2 separate regions of the Homo sapiens genome follow, and region 2 is linked to region 1. Evidence: promoter capture Hi-C in human tissues and cell types (Jung and others, 2019). All regions are on one chromosome and are shown on one strand. Each heading gives the region's core, a stretch centred on a gene start or on the middle of the fragment in contact. The rest is flanking DNA. Distances are from core to core; before and after follow the strand shown. Region 1 holds the start of SPATA21 (spermatogenesis associated 21). Region 2 has its middle 4.8 kb from the start of TRN-GTT4-1.

Evidence for each region. Contacts are between HindIII fragments. The study calls those that stand out against the background at their distance.
Region 2: a contact is called between a fragment that was not itself captured here and the fragment with the promoter of SPATA21 in region 1, in 1 of the 25 tissues and cell types used here (dorsolateral prefrontal cortex).

Annotation. Positions count from the first base shown.
Region 1 is chr1:16,435,099-16,440,436 of GRCh38, reverse strand. SPATA21 (spermatogenesis associated 21) reads left to right here and starts at 3,013. Exons shown (of 13, transcript NM_198546.1): 1 at 3,013-3,309. RefSeq lists a silencer at 2,113-2,283. The HindIII fragment of the contact is 3,104 bases long and covers 2,254-5,338 here.
Region 2 is chr1:16,882,184-16,887,521 of GRCh38, reverse strand. It overlaps the pseudogene LOC107985101. Among named protein-coding and RNA genes, the nearest start is that of TRN-GTT4-1, 4.8 kb to the left of the region's middle. The HindIII fragment of the contact is 3,878 bases long and covers 966-4,843 here.

The DNA.
Region 1 (5,338 bases), core at 1,764-4,263:
GCCTGGGGCCCAGTTGACCGAGAGGCAAAGCTGTAGCCCACCCTGCAGTATCTCTGTCCTCCAGCCTTTGCCTCGGCGCCTCCTCTGCCTGAATATCCTTCCCTCTCCTGACTGTAAGGCTCAGCTGGCACCTGACCCACCAGACTAAATAGATGCCATTACCCTACCACCCTCCATGCTTCCCCTAGGGGAACCCACTTATATGCTCAGGGCCCCGTGTGGCCAAACCTCAACAACGAGTTGTATTCAAAGAAGTAAAGTTTAGTAACACAAGTAATTTAAGAAGAATTCCAGGCCGGGCTTGGTAGCTCACGCCTGTAATCCCAGCACTTTGGGAGGCTGAGGCGGGCGGATCACCTGAGGTCAGGAGTTCGAGACCAGCCTGGCCAACATGGTGAAACCCCGTCTCTACTAAAAATACAAAAATTAGCCGGGCTTGGTGGCGTGTGTCTGTAGTCCTAGCTAGTTGGGAGACTGAGGCACTAGAATCGCTTGAACCCGGAATGCGGAAGTTGCAGTGAGCTGAAATTGTGCCACTGCACCTCAGCCTGGGTGACAGAGCGGGACTCTGTCTCAAAAAAAAAAAAAAAGAAGAAGAAGAATTCCAGTCTTAACTTCGATTTCTCCCAGAATATTCTGGGAGATACAATGTCTACCCTAGCCAAATTCTCAAAATCCCTCCTTCCCTACCATTCTCTCATTGAGTTGAGTGCCTGCAATGTGCCAGCCCCTATGTGGGGGTGAAGCTGATCCCAAACTTCTGATTCACTGAATACCCCAAACTTTCCCCACCCCTTCTTTCCTTTTCTCTCTCACTCTCCTTCTCCTTTTTACTTTTTTTTTTTTTTTTCTTCAGACAAAGTCTCACTCTGCCGCCCAGGCTGGAGTGCAGTGGTGCAATCTCGGCTCACTGCAACCTCCACCTCCCGGGTTCAAGCGATTCTCCTGCCTCAGCCTCCCGAGTAGCTGGGATTACAGGCACCCACCACCAAGCCTGGCTAGTTTTTGTATTTTTTTGGTAGAGACGGGGGTTTCATCTGGTTGGCCAAGCTGATCTTGAACTCCTGACCTCAAGTGATCCGCCCACTTCGGCCTCCCAAGTGCTGGGATTACAGGCGTGAGCCACCACGACTGGCCATTTCTACTCATTTTTTATAAGCTTTTTATTATAGGATTGATCTAACCACTTACATTTTTATTGTAAAATATACATAACATAAAATTTACCATTTTAAGTGTACAATGCTGTGAAATTAAGTACATTCACAATATTGTGCAACTATATCATGCTTTCCAGAACTTTTCATCATCCCAAACAGAAACTCCACACCCATTAGCAATAACTTCCCATTTCCTTCTGCTCCATCCCTTAGTAACCTCTGTTTTACTTTCTGTCTCTATGAATTTGCCTTTTCTAGATACCTCTTATAAGTGGAATCATACAATATTGGGCTTTTGTGTTTCTTATTTCACTTAGCATCAAGTTTTCAAGGTTCTTTCATGTAGCATGGATCAGAATTTCATTCCTTTTAATGGAGGGATAATATTCCATTGCATGTATATACCATATTTTGTTTATCCATTCATCTGTCAACAATTGGGATGTTATCACCTTTTGGTATTGGGAATCGGGCTACTATGAGCATTGGTGTTCAAACACTTGTTCTAGTCCTGTTTTCCATTTTCTTGAGTGTATACATAGGAGTGAAACTGCTGAGTTATACAATAATGCTATGTTTAGTGGTTTTGTTTTGTTTTGTTTTGTTTGAAACAGCATCTCACTCTGTTGCCCAGGCTGGAAAGCACTGGCATGATCATGGCTCACTGCAGCCTCAACCTCCCAGGCTCAAGTGATCCTCCCAACTCAGCCTCCCAAGTAGCTGGGACTACAGGTGTGAACCACCATGTCCGGCCTTGCTCACCTTTTTGAGGAGCCTCCAAACTGTCTTCCACAGCAGCAGCACCATTTACGTTCACAAGGGTTTCAATTTCTTCACATTTTTGCAAATATTGGTTATTTTTCTTTTCTTTTCTTTTCTTTTTCTTTTCTTTTTTTTTTTTTTTTTAGACAGGGTCTCTCTCTTTCTTTCTCTCTCTGTCACCCCACACTGGAGTGCAATGGTGCGATCATCACTCACTGCAGCCTCAAATTCCCGGGCTCAAGGGATCCTCCTGCCTCAACCTTTTGAGTAGCTGGGCCTACAGGCACACACCACCCTACCCTGCTATTTTTCTTACTTTTTGTAGAGACGGGGGTCTTGCTATGTTGCCCAGGCTGGTCTTGAATTCCTGTCTTCAAGAGATCCTCCTGCCTCAGCCTTCCAAAGTGCTAGGATTATAGGCATGAGCCACCATACCTGGCCTTATTTTCCAATTTTTTTTTTTTTGAGACTAAGTCTCACTCTACCACCCAGGCTGGAAGACAGTGGCATGATCTCAGCTCACTGCAACTTCTGCCTCCCAGGTTCAAGTGATTCTCGTGCCTCAGCCTCCTAAGTAGCTGGGATTACAGGCATGCGCCACCATGCCTGGCTAATTTTTGTATTTTTAGTAGAGACGGGGTTTCACCATGTTGGCCAGGCTGGTCTATAACTCGACCTCAAGTGATCCACCCACCTCGGCCTCCCAAAGTGCTGGGATTACAGGTGTGAGCCACCGCACCCAGCCATTCAGAGCACTTTCAGTTCTGTTCAGTCTAACAAAGACAGGCATCGAGCACATACCCTATGCCAGGTGCTGAGTACTGGGGTCACTGGGATGTGGCCAATCCAGCTCCTACCATCCTGGAGCTCGCAGACTGGAGGAGACAGAGAGAAAAGCAGTCATTGGCAAAGCAGAATGAAAGGTACTGTAATGAAGCAAATTCACAGGGGCCTGTGGGAGCAAAGAGAAGAAACCCCACACAGTCTGGGGAGAGTCAGGGAAGGCTTTCTGGGAGAGAGTACCCTGGCCCAATAATCACTGTGAGGTTGGCAAGGCAACGATTGTTATCTTCATTGTGTAATGGGGGCCACTGAACCAGTGACAAGCTGGGGGAAATGACACTGTCCAGTAGTTGGAGGTCACACAGCCCCTTGCCTTATTCTCAAACCCTAACCACATGGCTGGATATTCCTGAAATGCATTCCTAAACCTCTGCTGCTGAGAATAATTGGACCTGCCATCTATTCCCAGTTTAACTGCCCTGTATACCAAACAAATCCAATTCAAGCCAACAGGCAAAGTATAGGCTCAGACAGAGCCCATCCTATGTGCAAGGCGGTGAGCAGGGGTGGAAAATCTCACTGTGACTCATCCAGCTGATTTCTGGTAGGTGCAGGGCCAAGGTGGGGTGTAAGGTGAACAAGCTTTCCCTGACGGCCTCCAGACATATATATGATATGCCACTTATCTTTATCTGCTGTATTTTCCTGCCATCATAGATATTTCCAAGAGAAATTCTCCCATTTTTCAGATGAGGAAACCACTTATAAAAGGGGCACTCAATACCCAAAGAATTTTGAAAAAGAACAAAGTTGGAGGACTCACACTTCCTGATTTCAAAACTTTTTATTTATTTATTTATTTATTTGTTTTTCCATAGGTTATTGGGGTACAGGTGGTATTTGGCTACATGACTAAGGTTTTTGTTTTTTGGTGTTTTTTTTTTGTTTACATTAGTAATTTTTTTTGAGACGGAGTCTTGCTCTGTTGCCCAGGCTGGCGTGTAGTGGTGCAGTCTCTGCTCACTGCAACCTCCATCTCCCAGGTTCAAGCGATTCTCCTGCCTCAGCCTCCCAAGTACCTAGGATTACAGGCAGGCACCACCATGCCCAGCTAATTTTTGTATTTTTAGTAGAAACAGGATTTCACCATGTTAGCCAGGGTGATCTCAAACTCCTGACCTCGAGTGATCTGCCCCCCTTGGCATCCCAAAGTTCTGGGATTACAGGCGTGAGCCACCTTGCCCTGCATGAGTAGGTTCTTTAGTGGTGATTTGTAAGATTTTGGTCCACCCATCACCTGAGCAGTATACACTGCACCCTATCTGTATTTTTTTTTTTTTTTTTTGAGACAGAGTCTCACCCTGTCATCTAGGCTGGAGTGCAATGGTGCGATCTCGGCTCACTGCAACCCTCCACCTGCCAGGTTCAAGCAATTCTCCTGCCTCAGCCTCCTGACTAGCTGGGATTACAGGCATGTGCCACCATGCCCGGCTAATTCTGTACTTTTAGTAGAGACGGGGTTTCTCCATGTTGGTCAGGCTGGTCTCAAACTCCCAACCTCAGGTGATCTGCCCGCCTCGGCCTCCCAAAGTGCTGGGATTACAGGCACGCACCACCACACTCAGCTAATTTTTTGTATCTTTAGTAGAGATGGGGTTTCACCTTGCTGGCCAGGCTGGTCTCAAACTCCTGACCTCATGATCCGCCCGCCTCAGCCTCCCAGAGTGCTGGGATTACAGGTGTGAGCCACCGCACCAGGCCGATAAATGGGACTTTTACAAAAATTTAAAACTTCTGTGCTTCAAAAGACAAAAAGGTGAAAATGTAATCCACATAATGGGAGAAAATTTTTGCAGATCATATATATGATTCAGGACATGTATCTAGAATTTATAAAGAACATTTACCGTGCAATAATAAAAAGACAACCCAGTATAAATGGACAGAGGCAGGCTGGGTGCTGTGACTCATGCATGTAATCCCAGCATTTTGGGAGGCTGAAATGGGAGGATCACCTGAGCCCAAGAGGTCAAGGCTATAGTGAGCCACGTTCATGCCACTGCAGTCCAGCCTGTGGACAGAGTAAGACCCTGTCTGAAAAAAAAAAAAGGGGGGGGCCGGGCATGGTGGCTCACACCTGTAATCCCAGTACTTTGGAAGGCTGAGGTGGGCAGATCACCTGAGGTCAGGGGTTTGAGACCAGCCTGGTCAAGATGGCAAAACCGCGTCTCTACTAAAAATACAAAAATTAGTCTGGTGTGGTGGCACACACCTGTAATCCCAGCTACTAGGGAGGCTGAAGCAGGAGAATTGCATGGACACGGGAGACGGAGGTTGCAGTGAGCTGGAACTAGGCCACTGCACTCCACCCTGGGTGACAGAGCGAGACTCCATCTCAAAAAAAAAAGGACGAAGGCTCTGAATAAACATTTTTCCAAAGAAGATAGACAAATGGCCAATAAGCACATGAAGATGTCCAACATTATCGGCCATTGGGGAAATGCAAATCAAAATCAGAATGAGATAACACTTTACACTCACATCCACTAGGATAGCTATGATAAAAAAGACAAGTAAGGCGGTACAGTGGCTCACACCTGTAATCCCAAAACACTGGGAGGCTGAGGCGGGAG
Region 2 (5,338 bases), core at 1,655-4,154, 450 kb before region 1:
ATCCATCAAAAGCCCGGGAGAGACAATCAAGTGCTTCAGGATCAAGAGCTAAACAGGGGAGGACAAAGCGGGGCTCCTTCACTAGGAGTCAAGCCAAAGTCAACTGATTTGGTCTCCAATGGAGAACAGAACTTGGTTCACCAGCGACGTGAGGACGCGGCCCAGAGGAGGCGGACTTTCTCTTCATGGTGCCTTCAGATAGGAAATCTAGGATTTTCTTTCTTTCCCTTTGATCTACTTCCAACTCTCCCTTTCTATTTCTTCAAGAACTTTTTCGGATCCCTAGCTGGGAAGGACCTAAGGGGCCAGTGCCCTTCCCTACTGGTCCCTCCTTGACTGGGTGTCTTCGGAGCCCAAGCTCACCCTGAACATTACTGCCCGCTTCAGACAGTGAGAGGACCAAGGAGGGCGGTGGGTGCGGTGGGAACCACAGAGTCACCGCGCACCTGCATCCGTGAGCTCCTAGCAAATTGAATAAATGCCCCCTGAAGCTTCTCTGCAGGTCAGAGGGAAGGGGAGGGTGGCTGCTGACCCGGCAGGAGAAGCTTCAAGAAGCATCGGGAGGACCTGGCCCTGCCCCTGGGCCTTGAAGACAGGCCTGGCCAGACTGATTTTGATGGGGAGGCCCAAAGAAAAGGTTCGAGGGCGGCCCAAACCCCTACCCCGAGATTAAGGCTCTTAAGTGTCTGACGGTTTTGAGAATCGTCAGTAGAATCTATCCTGCCTGTATCAGGAGACTCCTTTGCCAAAATTCAGAGACCAAGAAAGAGAAAGATTGGGCAGATCAAAATCTGTAATTAACCAAACAGGAAACATAAGTTTTCTGACAAATTGGATGTGTGCTGTGAGAAAAAGACTAGCCTCAAGGAGAACCTGGTTTTTTGGCTTGAGTATAGGGAAGAATGGAGTTGCCACCAACAATGTTGCATTGAAACGGCCGATGCATCAGGCTGTAGATGTGAAGGAATTAAAAATATTTGACCCCAAACTACATTTCTTTGACATATTTTGAGATGTCTGTTCAGAAAGCCAGCTGCAGAAGTAGCCCTGCAAAGTTGTCTTTTGTTGGGGAGATTTGCATCTGTAGGGAATCTGCATTGATACAGCCAAGTCTTTCCTTGCCCAGATCTAGGAAAGATTAACTGAGAGTCTGACACATGTAAAGGTCTGAAAGAAATTTTTAGGGTTTATTCTCTCTGAGAGCTGCTAACTGTAGGGTTTCATTTACATATTAAGACCACCTTTGCTAGCCAAGCCTCCTCTTCTCTCCCTACCATCACTTATCTTGTCCACAATAATTGGATATACCTCTGACTCTGATTGCACCTGGTTTTGGCCATGCTTTGAGCCCTCATTCATTCTGTTACCTCAAGATGGTATATAAGCTTCTGCATCCCATTGTGGGTAGGGGAGGGTAATCACTCTGTGACTCTCCCCATGCACATGTTAGTACATTTTATGCCTTTTTTCCAATTAATCTGCCTTTTGCGACTTGATTTTTGAGTGAAACTTCAGAGGGTTAAGAGGGAGGGTTTCCATTGGCCCCTACAGTTTTGGAGCTGTAAGCAGGATAGGAAAGCTCTGCTCTTCTGGAAGCTGCAGTGAAGAACCCAGGATCTGATCAGCTGTCATAAGGGTAAGAATTTTTTTACCAGCCAGGCTCCTGGCCTCCTTCTCTGTGTGGAATCTCATCAAGTGGACAGTAAAAATCACTGTTTCTTTCTTTTCCCTCTCCAAAATCTTGATTAATTGGAGAAAAGGATTTGTGTGACTAGTCTTGGGTGTAGTGACTCTGGTGTGCTTTTTGGTACTTTGTGGTACCAATTCCTATTGTTTAATCCCTTTGTTCCCAGAAATTGTCTGTTCCTTTGTCTTTGTCTCTATGTGTTATTCTGTCATAAAAGGGGGTACCGGTTGAGGTTCCTTCTCATCTTATTTTATGTCCTTGAGAGCTTGACTTGTGAGCAAGTGGGAGCGCTTTCTCTTGGTTTCCACTATCTGGAAAGAGGCAGTAACTATCAGGTCATACTAGGTGGCCTGTCTGAAAATGGCTGGGAACCCCAGCACACTTTTTGTTCTGACCATGTCAAGCTCTTGGGGTTTGTCTTAAGAAGTCCCATCCCTTTGAGGCTTTTGTCATCTCAATTCTTGTTGCCTGGTTAGTCCTAGGAAAGCTCAATCCCAAGAGGGCCTACCTGGTATTATAGATTCAGAGGTCTGTGACTGGAAGCCCCCATAAATATCTGGGTTACTGGAGGCCAACATCATCCTTACCCATCTGTGGTCTACTCCTTGCATTGAACTTTTTTCTTGCAGGGGAATCTTTGGGATTGCTTCTTCTTTGCCCTTCCCAGGAGGTTAACCTGGAAAATGACATCCTGGGCTTTCCACAAAGGGGCTATTTGGTTGAATTGCTATTGCAATAATTACACCATTGGAAATTCTACTTGCCAATGGCCTGAAGATGGATCCCTTAAATTAGACACCTGAATTAAAAAAAAAAAAGATTTTAGAGATCTCTTATTTTAACAGTTCATAGGAAGATCAAATTAAAACAAACACACATAATAGTGTCATGGCTACCCTTAAAAATTCTCTTGACAATATTATGTGTGTTGTGTAGGGAAAAAAAATTCTCTTAACTAAATTAAAGAGCAAAATTTGACCCGAAACAAAGTTAAAATTCTTCATAAGCTCAAACTGCCTGCTCTGGATCCCTTCCAGGATGCACAATAAAGTCTGCTCTACCTTGCAGTTCAGTGCTTAAAGTTCTGTGTTTTGCTGCCATAGCCTGGGGTCGATTTCCAGTCAGGAAACCAGTTTATTTTGGCTTGATATTTGTGTGACTTTTGACTTTTTGGAATACCCATTTATTGATCCTTTTCCCTTTCACGGGCAGCTTTTGTTTGTTTGTTTGTTTATTAATACAGAGTCTCACCCTATCACCCAGGCTGGAGTGCAGTGGCGAGATCTTGGCTTACTGCAACCTCCGCCTCCCAGGTTCAAGTGATTCTCCCACCTTGGTCTCTCAAGTCGCTGGGATTACAGTCACCCACCACCACGCCTGGCTAATTTTTGTATTTTTAATAGAGACAGGGTTTTGTCATGTTGGCCAGGCTGGTCTTGAGCTCCTGACCTCAAGTGATCTGCCTGCCTCAGCCACCCAAAGTGTTGGGATTATAGATATGAGCCACCCCTCCTGGTTGTTGGCAGCTTTTGATTTCCTGTCCTTCCAGCTTCCAAAGTTTCTGATGAGAAATCTGTTGATAATCTTATTAAAGATTTCTTGCATGTGACCAGTTGCTTTTCTCTTACCAATTTAAAGATTCTCTTTGACTTTTGAAAGTTTGATTATAATGCGTTTTGGTGTAGGTCTCTTTAGGTTTATCTTACTTGGAGTTTGTTAGGCTACTGTGTTTGTATTCATGTCTTTCATCAAATTTGGGAAGTTTTCAGCCATGATTTCTTCAAATATTCTCTATTGCCCTTCTCTCCCTCTTCTTTAGAAATTCCACAATGCAAGGCTGGGAGCAGTAGCTCATGCCTGTAATCCCAGCATTTTGGGAGGCCGAGGCGGGAGGATCACCTGAGGTCAGGAGTTTGAGACCAGCGTGACCAACATGGAGAAATGCCGTCTCTACTAAAAATACAAAATTAGCCAGGCATGGTGGTGCATGCCTGCAATCTCAGCCTCTTGGGAGGCTGAGGTGGGAGAATTGCTTGAAACCAGGAGGCAGAGGTTGCGGTGAGCTGAGATAGCGCCATTGCATTCCAGTCTGGGCAGCAAAAATGAAACTCCTTCCCCCCTCCCACCCCCCAAAACAACAACAACAAAAAAGAACTTCCACAATGTACATGGTGGTCCACTTGATGGTCACTTAGGCTCTGTTCACTTTTCTTCAATCTTTTTTTATTTCTGTTCCTCAAACTGGATGATTTCCATTGCCTTATCTTCAGGTTCACTGATTGTTTCTTCTGCCTGCTCAGCTTTCTTCAAATTTGACTTTGAATCCATCTAGTTAATTTTTTACCAAAGCAGCAACTATTTCGGAAAAGCCTCCTTCATATTGCAGCCATTGGACATGATAATACATGGGATATGCTGCCATTTGTTGAGAATCATGTGAAAATTAAGCTTCTGCCCCATCACACTAAAGTTCCAGCCCTGAGTCCCCACGGTTTTCTCCCTAGGCTAAGATAGAAAGGAAGAACATGAAATGTGCAGAAAGCATTCTCTTAAGCAAACATGTATAACTTGCCTAAATTGTAATTATTTCCCGGAACAGGATGCACCTCTAACCTCTACAGGCAGATCATAGATTCCATTGTCCAGCTGTATAATGAATTCTTCTTCTCAGAGAAGAATACCAGACACTCTCCCTGGCTTGCCTGAATCAAATTTCCAGAAGTAATCGGTGAAAGGCCACAATATGAAGTCTCTCTCAGATGAGTTCCTTCTCTTGTCACATCCCACAGTAGAAACAAAAGAGGACGGGGAGGCCAGAGCTGCTCAAAGCCTTATAACCCACAATTCTCATAGTTATTCTCAACTTAGAGAGGGCTGCTTTCTAGATGCTCCCCCTCCAGGCCTGCAGACTGCCAGGCTCCAGGAATAAGTAGCTCTGAGAAGTCTACTATTTAGCTGCGAGCCACACTCCCCTATTGCAAATTGGAGAAAGGAAGGACAAACTTAAAAGGTGAAAAGATTTAAGAGAACAACATGGTGAAACCCCATCTCTACTAAAAATACAAAAATTAGCCGGGCGTGATGGCATGCGCCTATAGGCCCAGCTACTCGGGAGGCCGAGGCAGGAGAGTCATTTGAACCCAGGAGGCGGAGGTTGCAGTGAGCCAAGATTGTGCCACTGCACACTAGCCTGGGTGACAGAGCAAGACTCCATCTCCAAAAAAAGAAAAAAGAAAGAAAGAAAGAAAGAAAGATTTAAGAGAACAATTATTTTAACTGAATACATTTTGTCAAGATTAAATCAACTTTCCCCTAGAGTACTGAAAGAATAAGCAATCATAATTTAGATTCTAAGTTACTGGTCTTTGAGAAAGTGTGAAAACCAAAAAGGTGCCACAAGCCAAAAAAGGAGCAAAAGTCCTAATTTTCAAACTGATGAAAATAAAGTACTAAAAAATGGAAATCATCATAGTTCATCTTGATCCTTGGCAAAATACAAATGTATCGATTCAAATTATAATATCTTAGCTACCCTATTGTGCGTAGCTCTTACCAATGAGGAGAAAAACCAAACCCAAACAAAAGTGTGTTCAAGTTGGCAAAAATGTTTACAAGCCTGCAAAATCTCTTCAGCCTATCCCTTAAACTCCA